2 separate regions of the Homo sapiens genome follow, and region 1 is linked to region 2. Evidence: promoter capture Hi-C in human tissues and cell types (Jung and others, 2019). All regions are on one chromosome and are shown on one strand. The core of a region is centred on a gene start or on the middle of the fragment in contact, and the rest is flanking DNA. Distances in the headings are between cores, read along the strand shown. Region 1 overlaps SLFN12L (schlafen family member 12 like). Region 2 holds the start of SLC35G3 (solute carrier family 35 member G3).

What was found. Contacts are between HindIII fragments. The study calls those that stand out against the background at their distance.
Region 1: a fragment that was not itself captured here is called in contact with the fragment with the promoter of SLC35G3 in region 2 in 1 of the 25 tissues and cell types used here (mesendoderm cells).

The regions. Positions count from the first base shown.
Region 1 is chr17:35,509,756-35,515,177 of GRCh38, forward strand. The region is part of intron 2 of SLFN12L (schlafen family member 12 like); the gene reads right to left. It also overlaps the pseudogene TOMM20P2. Among named protein-coding and RNA genes, the nearest start is that of SLFN12L, 25 kb to the right of the region's middle. The HindIII fragment of the contact is 5,418 bases long and covers 1,183-5,422 here.
Region 2 is chr17:35,190,733-35,196,432 of GRCh38, forward strand. SLC35G3 (solute carrier family 35 member G3) reads right to left here and starts at 3,661. Exons shown (of 1, transcript NM_152462.2): 1 at 1,788-3,661. The coding sequence starts at 3,575. The coding sequence ends at 2,559. It also overlaps the pseudogene SPICP2. The HindIII fragment of the contact is 5,493 bases long and covers 166-5,658 here.

The sequences.
Region 1 (5,422 bases), core at 2,642-5,141, 320 kb after region 2:
GGCGTGATCTCAGCTCACTGCAAGCTCCGCCTCCTGGGTTCATGCCATTCTCCTCCCTCAGCCTCCCGAGTAGCTGGGACTACAGGTGCCTGCCACCACGCCTGGCTAATTTTTTGTATTTTTAGTAGAAACGGGGTTTCACCGTGTTAGCCAAGATGGTCTCGATCTCCTGACCTCATGATCCTCCTGTCTCAGCCTCACAAAGTGCTGGGATTACAGGCGTGAGCCACCGCGCCCGGCCAAAAAATAGAGACTCTTAATGGAGGAGCCATAAACTCACATACCTATAGAAGCCAAACTGGTAAAAGCAAGTAGTGGAACCACATGGATTAATGAGATGATAGGAAGTACAAAACAGCCATGTAAGTCAAATTAAAAAGCCAGCTTCCACTTTCTGCTTTAATCTTTTCAAAGCAATAACTATTACATAAATCAGTGGATACAATATTTCAGCAGTATTTGAAATGGTGTTCATACCCAGCAATTCCGCTTCTAGACATAAATCCAAGAGAATTGAAAACATATGTGCACACAGGCACTTGTACATGAATATTCATGGAAGCATTATCCACAACAGCCAAAAAGTGGAAACAGTCCAAATGTCTATCGAGATGAATGAATAAATAAAATGTAGTGTATGCATGCAGTGAAATATTATTTGGCCATAAAAAGAAATGAAGCACTGATGCAGGCTGCAACACGGATGAACTTGAAAACTTTATGTTACGTGAAAGAAGCCAGTCATAAAAGGTCACACGCTGTTATTCCTATTATAGGAAATATCCAGATAGGCACGTCCATAGAGACAGAGAGGAGAGGAGACGTTGCCAGGGGCTGGACAAGGAGAATGAGAGTGAGCGCTAATGGATGTTGCATTTCTTTGTGAGGTGGATAGTGGTGATCATTGCACAACTCTGTGAATGTACTAAAAATTATTGAATTGTACACTTTGAAAGAATTAATTATATAGTATGCAATTATATCTCAGTTTTAAAAAAAGGAAAACAGTAACCAAAATCTCCTATGGAAGCATAAAATTTTCTCTGTTAATTATGCCAAATAAAACTGAATTCACAGCAAAAAAAAAAAAAGAAGAGAAAGGATTCCTAAATTATTTAATTACTACTAATATCTGACCTGAAGTTACTTTGAATGTCTTGCTTCTTCATCAGCACTGACCATAGTTCTAGTCAGATTTTCCTATTTTTTTAACTCAAACTGTTGAGAGAGAGAAATGGCGTATATTAGAAAGATGCAATATTGTTTAAACTTTACTACTCTTTTGTTTTTACATTGATTTTCATGTTTATCTTATTCTATTTTGACTGTAATGTATACATTTAACTAAAGATTGTATTTCTCAATTGTAATTTTTTTCTAGTAGAAAACATTTTAAGATGCAGAGTTCTTTTCTTTTTCTCCAATCCCTTTAATAGTCACTTAAACAATTAAGATTGAAGCGATAATAAAACTGCATTTCTTACAAGATTTTGTATGATATTTGTAGTATATACCAATTTTCTCATAATCTCTTCTGCAATAACATTTCATTAATACTCTGGTCCTCAGGTTGTTTCAACAAGGTCAGAAAGATAGGCAAGAAGATGGTAAAATAAACTTACTCATGGGTAAAAGGAATCAAATATTTACTATGTACACTATTCTAGGTTTTACACACTTTACATAAATTAAGTGTGACATAAGTTCTAGTTGTCTGTTAATAGAAAAGCATCACTTTGGGAGGCTGACGCAGGAGGATCCCTTAAGCCCAGGAGTTAGAGACCAGCCTGGGCAAGATGGTGAGACCTCGTCTCTACACACACACACATACACACACACACACACACACACACACAGAGCCCCTATAGTCCTAGCTACTCAGGAGCAGGAGGCTGAGGTGGAAGGATCCCTTGAGCCCAAGTATTTGACGTGGCAGTGAGCTATGATTGTGCCACTGCACTCCAGCCTGGGCAACAAAGCAAGACTTCATCTCTAAATAAAATGAAACAAAATAAAATAAATAAAAAACATAACAGCAATTCCAGGGCCAGCTAAGTCTATGTTTTACATGTGCTTTCACTTTAAGTACAAATTGTGGAAACAAACAATGTATCCTTGCCTAAAGATACATTGTCAACATGGCACTAATACATATTTTCCACTTCCAAAGTTTTTTTTGTAAGTGTACAACGTTAGCACATGGAAACATTCAAGCTGTTTATCATTCCACTGAAATCTGGGTTTTGTTATGTTTTGTTTTGTTTTTCTGTTCTCACCTGCTGAGCAGCATTTGGCCAGCATCACCACAGGGACTTGGTTCTATCACCCGGTAAAGTTAAGATGGGAACAGAAAGTGGCAATTGTGTTTCTGGGAGAGAATTTAAAAAAGAGCTGATTTTTTTTTTTTTTTTTTTTTTGAGACGGAGTCTCGCTCTGTCGCCCAGGCTGGAGTGCAGTGGCGTGGTCTCAGCTCACTGCAAGCTCCGCCTCCCGGGTTCACACCATTCTCCTACCTCAGGGACTTGGTTCTATCACCCGGTAAACTTAAGATGGGAACAGAAAGTGGCAATTGTGTTTCTGGGAGAGAATTTAAAAAAGAGCTGATTTTTTTTTTTTTTTTTTTTTTTTGAAACGGAGTCTCGCTCTGTCGCCCAGGCTGGAGTGCAGTGGCGTGGTCTCAGCTCACTGCAAGCTCCGCCTCCCGGGTTCACACCATTCTCCTACCTCAGCCTCCTGAGTAGCTGGGACCACAGGCGCCCGCCACCATGTCCGGCTAATTTTTTTGTATTTTTAGTACAGACGGGGTTTCACTGTGTTAGCCAGGATGGCCTGGATCTCCTGACCTTGTGATCCGCCTGCCTCGGCCTCCCAAAGTGCCAGGATTACAGGCGTGAGCCACCGTGCCCAGCCTTTTTTCTTTAACTTAACACTGCTAGCTTTAAAAGGTAGTGTGTAATTTTAAAGCACTGAAGTTGTCATTTAAATAAGAAAATGCACTTGGCTTAATCAACTGTGAAATGAAGACGATATCACTGCCTTTTCAGGCATTAGACCAAAGCCAATTATTTTGAGCCAAGTGATACCAAGTTTATATTGCACTACAGTTTTCAAGGACATAGTGTTTCTACCCTCTCCGAACCTAAGTTGCCCCCTCACTCCTCCAGCCAACCCCCCTTTCTCTGGGCCCGTTCTTTCCCAGCTGAGCTGTTTGCCCCTTGCTCCCTTTCCCTCCTCTATTTGCCCTTTGACTGTCCCTCTATCTATATCTGGGCTAGTGCAAAAGGTTTCTTCACTGCCTGGTCAGTCACTGACCAGTCACCACTGCACTGGGGTGGATTTGGGATCCTATTAGTAAAACTGACTATCTGGTATGTTTGTGCTGGTCATCTCCCCTGAAAATGATATTGTGCCTCATCATCAAAAGTACTGTTTAAGGGATAAGGATGGCAAACCCACAAGGTATCTGAGAAAATCCTCAAATGTGTGAGTCACCTAGTCAAATGTTCACTTATATATACTACAGGTAAGTTCAGAGATGAACTGTGACTTGCCCGAGGCTGTGCAGCTGACCAGAGGGAGACACTGGAACTGTATTTCTCTTTCCACTATACCATAAAAAAAAACAAGGTTAATGACACTTAAAAAGAGTTTGTAAGTAAACCAAAATGAAATGCCTAGTACATAGGAAAAGTCTTTGGGATCTCCCCACAGATTTTTAGGCAGAATGAAAGCTATCTGTACAATGAGAAATGCTGCTCAGTTCGACAGATGCCACCAAGTACCAACAGATGCCACCAAGTACCAACAGATGCCACCAAGTATCCTTACTGTCGTTCTGAAACTGAGTCTGTGACTGCAGATAATATGTCACTATTTGAGAATAAGAGGTCCCACCCTCTCCATTCTTTTCAGGTCTTCAGTCACAAGGTCACACCTTACTTTCATTGTTTAACAGGATAAATTAATCAGGTTGAAGTAGGACTTAGGAGGTACATTGAAGATAAAAGCAAAACGCAGCAAACATTTTTACAAGTAGATCATCGCGGTTACCTTAAAAGTTAAGTTTCAGATTAATTTACAGAGTAGTGACAGAATCATAATTTCAGTGAAAATCAACAATAGAGTTGTATCATTGAAAAAAGATAAATTTGGAAATACTAAGTCAGGCAAGCACGCGAAATTCAGAATATTAAAAAAGGCAAGGCCTGGTTGCCAACATACGTTCCTCAGATGAAGGTGGATATGAAGATACTAAACAGAACCAAATGACCGAGAAGCTGAAAGGGACACTTTGCAGATCAGCAAATGGACTCCGACTCCCTCGTTCAATACATTGAGGAAAGTGAGCTCACAAAGCTTGATTGGGGTATACATAAATCTAATTCCTGGTGCTGTTTGCAACTACTTATATTTTAAATGCAAGGAGATAATTGCTTAGAACACATTAAGCTCACTGATTTAAACAAAACATTTCAAGACTGACACACTGGAAGGTGGTAATGTTAACACAGCACAACAGCACACCTCGCAGATTTATGTCTAAGAGATTAAATGGAATCATCACCTCAAAATTTTAATCCTCAGTTTTCACAAACACGATCAAGTCTCTATCAAATTTTCTGATTTATAGCATAATGCACTAGCCGTAAAAATGTGCATTCTTCAGTTTCTCCTACACTTTTCTGCCTATCTTTCAACACTGAGCCCTGGGTGTTTTCAACATAAGCAAGGCCATATGCACATTTTAATCTCATGTTTTAGAAATGAACAAAATCTGTGATATTTCAGTAGCTCATAGTGTACTTAAAAAATGAAAAGATCTCTATCAAAATATGCTTTTCACTGGGAAAAATAAATGAACCAAATGGATTTACACAAAGTAAACATTAACTTTGGTAGATTTCAATGTAGAATAGTTCATAACAAGCATATTTGCCCTTCTGCTCAACTACCAAGTTAAGACTTTTTCAAGTATTTTAACTGAGATTTTATTATGTTGACATTTGTTTCTCATTCCACATCGTCTTTGGCCAAGCGCCAGCACTTACAAGTCTCTGATTAACTGGTAGGGGCTTTGTCAGAAGCATCTGGATCACTGGTAGTGGAAGAGTTTGTTGTAACACTTGCAGTAACCACTGTGGCTGTCCACACACAGCACTTGGATTTGTCAGGTGGTCTACACCTTTAGCTAGGATCTCTTCACCAAAGCTATATCTCTTCCAGGAAGAATTTCTGGACAGCTTCAGCATCTTTAAGGTCAGCTAACTTGGAAAGCTCAACTCACTCCTCGGCCAGCTTCTGTTTCTTTCTTTATTCTGGACGCCTATTCTTTAAGTTGGGGTCACTTCAGTCTTTTGCGGTCGAAGTAGATGCAGTACCCGATGAAAAGGGCCCCGAATACTCCAGCGGCGATGGCTCCGTT
Region 2 (5,700 bases), core at 2,411-4,910:
GCAGACATGTGTTTCAGGGGAGGGGAAGGCTATTTCCACCATATGCAAGTGGATGCTGCATTGGACACTGATGGGCAGAACCATCATGCTGGAAAATAATTTTTTATTTTCATGACAGCCTACCATTGAATTTACAATTCTGATATTAATGAAATATCTCTATAAAGGGTTGAAGTGTCTTCCTGCAACAATTGCCAAGGAACAAAATTGTCAATTTATTAATGAAACATGACGTGTGTTGAACAAGACAAGCTGGGTCAAGCATTTGAGGATGCTTTTGAGGCACTGAGGCAACATTCAACTGGAGATCTTTAGTACTCGCCAGATTACAAAAATTACCTGGCTTTAATCAATTATTGTCCTCACGTCAAAGGAAATTCCAGCTGCTATGGAGTGTTGCCTACAGAGGAACCTCTCTGTAATTGGAGAACGGTAATCAACAGTGCTGCGGACTTCTATTTTGAAGGAAACATTCATCAGTCTCTGCAGAACATAACTGAAAACCAGCTGGTACAACCCACTATTCTCCAGCAAAAGTGGGGAAAAGGCAGGAAGAAGCTTAGACTGTTTGAATACCTTCACGAATCCCTGTGTAATCCGGAGATGGCACCTTGTATTCAGTGGGTAGATAAAATCAAAGGCATCTTTCCGTTTGTATCAAAAAACAAAGGAAAACTTGCCGAGCTTTGGCGGAAAAGAAAAGGCCGTTGGAAGACCATGACTTATCAGAAAATGGCCAGGGCACTGAGAAATTATGGAAGAAGTGAGGAAATTACCAAAATCCGGAGGAAGCTGACTTACCAGTTCAGTTAGGCCACTCTCCAAAGACTCTCTCCATCTTATTTCTTGGGGAAAGAGATCTTTCCCCAAGTGTGTTAAACCTGATCAGGAATATCTCAGTTTAAATAACTGGAATGCAAATTATAATTATACATATGCCAATTACCATGAGCTAAATCACCATGATTGCTAAATATACTCTCATATTTCATGGTTTCCTGGCATTGGAAGTCCCTACAGTTTTAAGGATTTCTCACTCTCTGTCTCTTTTTTCCTTCCTCTGAAGGAGTTTAGGATTTTTCTCTTAAAGCAAACACTAAAGAGAAAAAAAACCAAGTAACTTTATTTGCTGCTTTTATCAAAGAGCATGTAATCTATACTAACTCAGTGGGAAATTCTGCCAATGAGCAGCTTTTTTTTTAATACTCTATGAAGATTCAATGAAAAACTTTATTGTTTCAAATGATTAAGTCCATTTGAAACTATAGACTAAATGTCCTTGCTCTGCTCTTACTATTCTCTCTAATTTTTTTATTTTATTATTTTTTAAAAGAGGTCTCAGCCAAGACAATTTTAAATTTTTATGGATTTAGGAGTACAAGTGCAGTTTTGTTGCATGGATACATTGCGTAGTGGTAAAGCATATTGCATAGCATCCTCATCATCAGAATAGTGAACATTGTACCCAATAGGTAGGATTTCATCCCTCATCCCCCACCCATCTGCCCACCTTTTGGAGCCTCCGGTGTCTATTACTCCACTCTGTATGTCCATTGCTAAGCCCCCAACTATACTCATTTTATTTTATTTTAAAACTTGTTTTCTTTTTCTGCATACTTCAATGGATGCAAACTCTTTTCATTTTTTCTTTTCCTTTCACAGACAGTGACTTCATTTTTTTTTTTTTTTTTTGCTGCTAACTCCCAAGCACAACACAGTGACTTATGTTTTTAATTTTTTTAAGAGGCAAAGCCTACCTCTGAAGCTCCTTTTTTTTTTCTTTTCCTACTTCAATAAGCTGGTCTACATTCTTACTCTTCTCTATGCAACCACTTTCTTCTAGATTAACAGTGCTAGTACAGATGATTTGATTTATACATTGATTTCAGCATTTTCTTTTCATGTACTCAGGTGAGGAAAATCACTCTTTTATATCCAATGACTTTACAAAAAATCATTTACAAAGAAGTGACTGCATATGATAAAATATTTGTGCCAAAATAAATTCATGGCTTTTAAAATGTCATAGAAATGTCTATTCAGGTATCTTTTTTTTTTTTTTTCACATTCACTGTAATCCTTGTTTGATGTCAATGTCACGTCACCACCCCAAGCGGGGGGCACAAGCACGAGGAAAGGAAACCTTCCCCGTGAGGGGAGGGGTGGGGAGGCACGCTTCCCTCCCCCAGCGCAGCTGCTGGCTCTGTCTTTGCCGGAACACTCCAGCCCCAATGCTCTTCTCTTTGCTGCTGAGTGAAGTCCTCCCCATGGCCCACGGCCTCCCTGCCTCAGCCCTTTGGATCTGCTCCTCAGACTTTACCCCTTAGTTATGCCCTGATTCTAGGACCCAGCCTGGACTCCACATCCCTTGGTCCCAGGCTGGCCCCAGGTCTTCCACGTAGTCCCTCTCCACCAAGTCCCCAAGTCACCCTTGACTCTGAGAGGTATCCCTCTCCCACACCAGTTCTTTTCCAGTCACTTCTCCTCCCATGTTTGTCTTCAGTCTTTGCCTTTATTTATCCCTGTCCCTCCCAACCCCCGGGCTCCCAAGTTCTATCTCACTCCTCCACCCTCCCTGTCCTCTCACAGCTGAGGTTCTGGGCTGTAATGATGGCAATGCTGCCCAGCACAACCCCTGCCGCCACGATGTCAGAAGGTGCCACAGTCTCATGGAGCATATAATACTGCAGTATAAGGGCCACAACCACCTCGGAATGTAGGACAGCGCACACCAGGGCAGGGTGGGCCTTGGTGACCGCATAGCCCACACATGTGAAGGAGACCAAGGCGAGGATCCCCACTGCCCCCACACAACTCCAACTCAGGAGGTCACTGGGCAACACGGGGGCCTGCAGCACAAAGAGGCCTGGCACAGAGCCCAGCAGCCCCACCAAGCCAGATAGGAAGGCCACTGTTGGGAGGCAGGGGGGAAAGTGCAGAGAACGATAGACCAGAAGCCTCAGGGACAGCGCCAGGCCTCCCAGGAAAGCCTCCACATAGCCCAGGGCGGTGTAGACACCCGTGGTCCCCTCCTGTAGTGTCCAGAGTCCAGGTCCCACAATGATGATTAGTCCTAGGATGCAGCCCAACAGTCCACACCAGTCGTAGCCACTGAGACCCTGGCTCTCAAGGCAGAGAGTGAGGACGGCGGAGCAGACGGTGGAAGAACCTTTGCGAACAGTGGCAGCGTTGCCAGCGGGCACCACCTGAACCGCACTGTAGGCACATCCAATGCTGAGGATGTTGAGCAGGGCACAGAAGAAGGCCCGGCTTCGGATGTCAGGAGTTCCCAGAAGGGGGTCGCCACGCAGTTTAAGTAGCAGGGCAATAGGGAGGTGGAAGAGGCATCGCCAGATGAGCAGCTCCAGCGAGGGCAGGTTGGAAGCCTGGTAAGCCATACGAGAAAGGGGGCCCACGAAGCCAGCAGGCAGGCCCCCACCCAGCAGGGCCACCAGCAGGCCACTGGTGGCATCAGAGGGCTGGCAGCGCTGGTACCAGCGGAGGCTGGGTGGAGCGGAGGGCGGCGATGGGTGTGTGGAGTCAGGCTGGTTGAAATAGGGGTGACTGCCAGCCATCTTTCCTTGGACTTTCTCCTCTCCTCCTGGCTCAGGGAGCCTGGGCCCCTCAGAGCTCCAGCCATTGTGACCTCATTGGAGTGGGGGTGGGATTCTTCCCTGGAACTCTCCTGAGGTGGTAGCACGCCTATTTTCCCACTGAGTCCAACTCTGCTTCTTTTCTTTCTTTTTTTGTTTTTTGTTTTTTTTTATTGATCATTCTTGGGTGTTTCTCGCAGAGGGGGATTTGGCAGGGTCATAGGACAATAGTGGAGGGAAGGTCAGCAGATAAACAAGTGAACAAAGGTCTCTGGTTTTCCTAGGCAGAGGACCCTGCGGCCTTCTGCAGTGTTTGTGTCCCTGGGTACTTGAGATTAGGGAGTGGTGATGACTCTTAACGAGCATGCTGCCTTCAAGCATCTGTTTAACAAAGCACATCTTGCACCGCCCTTAATCCATTTAACCCTGAGTGGACACAGCACATGCCCCAGAGAGCACAGGGCTGGGGGCAAGGTCACAGATCAACAGCATCCCAAGGCAGAAGAACCCTTCCCAGTACAGAACAAAATGAAGTCTCCCATGTCTACTTCTTTCTACACAGACACAGCAACAATCTGATTTCTCTATCTTTTCCCCACCTTTCCCCCTTTTCTATTCCACAAAACCACCACCGTCATCATGGCCCGTTCTCAATGAGCTGTTGGGTACACCTCCCAGACGGGGTGGTGGCCGGGCAGAGGGGCTCCTCACTTCCCAGAAGGGGCGGCCGGGCAGCGGTGCCCCCCACCTCCCGGACGGGGCAGCGGCCGGGCGGGGGCTGACCCCCCACCTCCCTCCCAGACGGGGCAGCTTGCCCGGCGGGGGCTGCCCCCCACCTCCCTCCTGGACGGGGCGGCTGCCGGGCAGAGAAGCTCCTCACTTCCCAGACGGGGCGGCTGCCGGGTGGAGGGGCTCCTCACTTCTCAGACGGGGCGGCTGCCGGGCGGAGGGGCTCCTCACTTCTCAGATGGGGCAGCTGCGGGGCGGAGGGGCTCCTCACTTCTCAGATGGGGCGGCCGGGCAGAGACGCTCCTCACCTCCCAGATGGGGTCGCGGCCAGGCAGAGGCGCTCCCCACATCTCAGACGATGGGCCCCCGGGCAGAGACGCTCCTCACTTCCTAGACGGGATGGCGGCCGGGAAGAGGCGCTCCTCACTTCCTAGATGGGATGGCGGCCGGGAAGAGGCGCTCCTCACTTCCCAGACTGGGCAGCCGGGCAGAGGGGCTCCTCACATCCCAGACAATGGGCGGCCAGGCGGAGACGCTCCTCACTTCCCAGGCGGGGTGGCGGCTGGGCAGAGGCTGCAATCTCGGCACTTTGGGAGGCCAAGGCAGGCGGCTGGGAGGTGGAGGTTGTAGCTAGCCGAGATCACGCCACTGCTCTCCAGCCTGGGCAACATTGAGCACTGAGTGAATGAGACTCCGTCTGCAATCCCGGCACCTCGGGAGGCCGAGGTTGGCAGATCACTCGTGGTTAGGAGCTGGAGACCAGCCTGGCCAACACAGCGAAACCCCGTCTCCACCAAAAAAATACGAAAACCAGTCAGGCGTGGCGGTGCGCACCTGCAATCGCAGGCTGAGGCAGGAGAATCAGGCAGGGAGGTTGCAGTGAGCCGAGATGGCAGCAGTACAGTCCAGCTTCGGCTCCGCATCAGAGGGAGACCGTGGAAAGACAGGGAAACGGAGACCGTGGGGAGAGGGAGAGGGAGAGGGAGAGCTCAGGTATCTTATACATTGTTTTCTTTCCTTCTCTTCTTTTGATCTTACCCACTTTTTTTTACAACTTAAAGCTTTTTTTTTTTTTTTTTTTTTTGAGACAGGGTCTCGCTCTCTCACCCAGGCTCAAGTGCAGTGACACAAACATGGCTCAAGCCCAGCTAATTTTTTTTTTTTTTTTGTAGAGACAGTGTTTTATTATGTTGCCCAGGCTAGTCTTGAACTCCTGGGCTCAGGCAATCTGCCCACCTTGGCCTTCGAAAGTGCTGGGATTACAGGTGTGAGTGACCAGACTGGTCCCAAAACTTTTTTAATGTTTAAATTTTACCACTATACTAAGGAGGAGTTACCCATCTTTTAATTGCCTTTTTTTCTTCTTATTAGGGAGGGG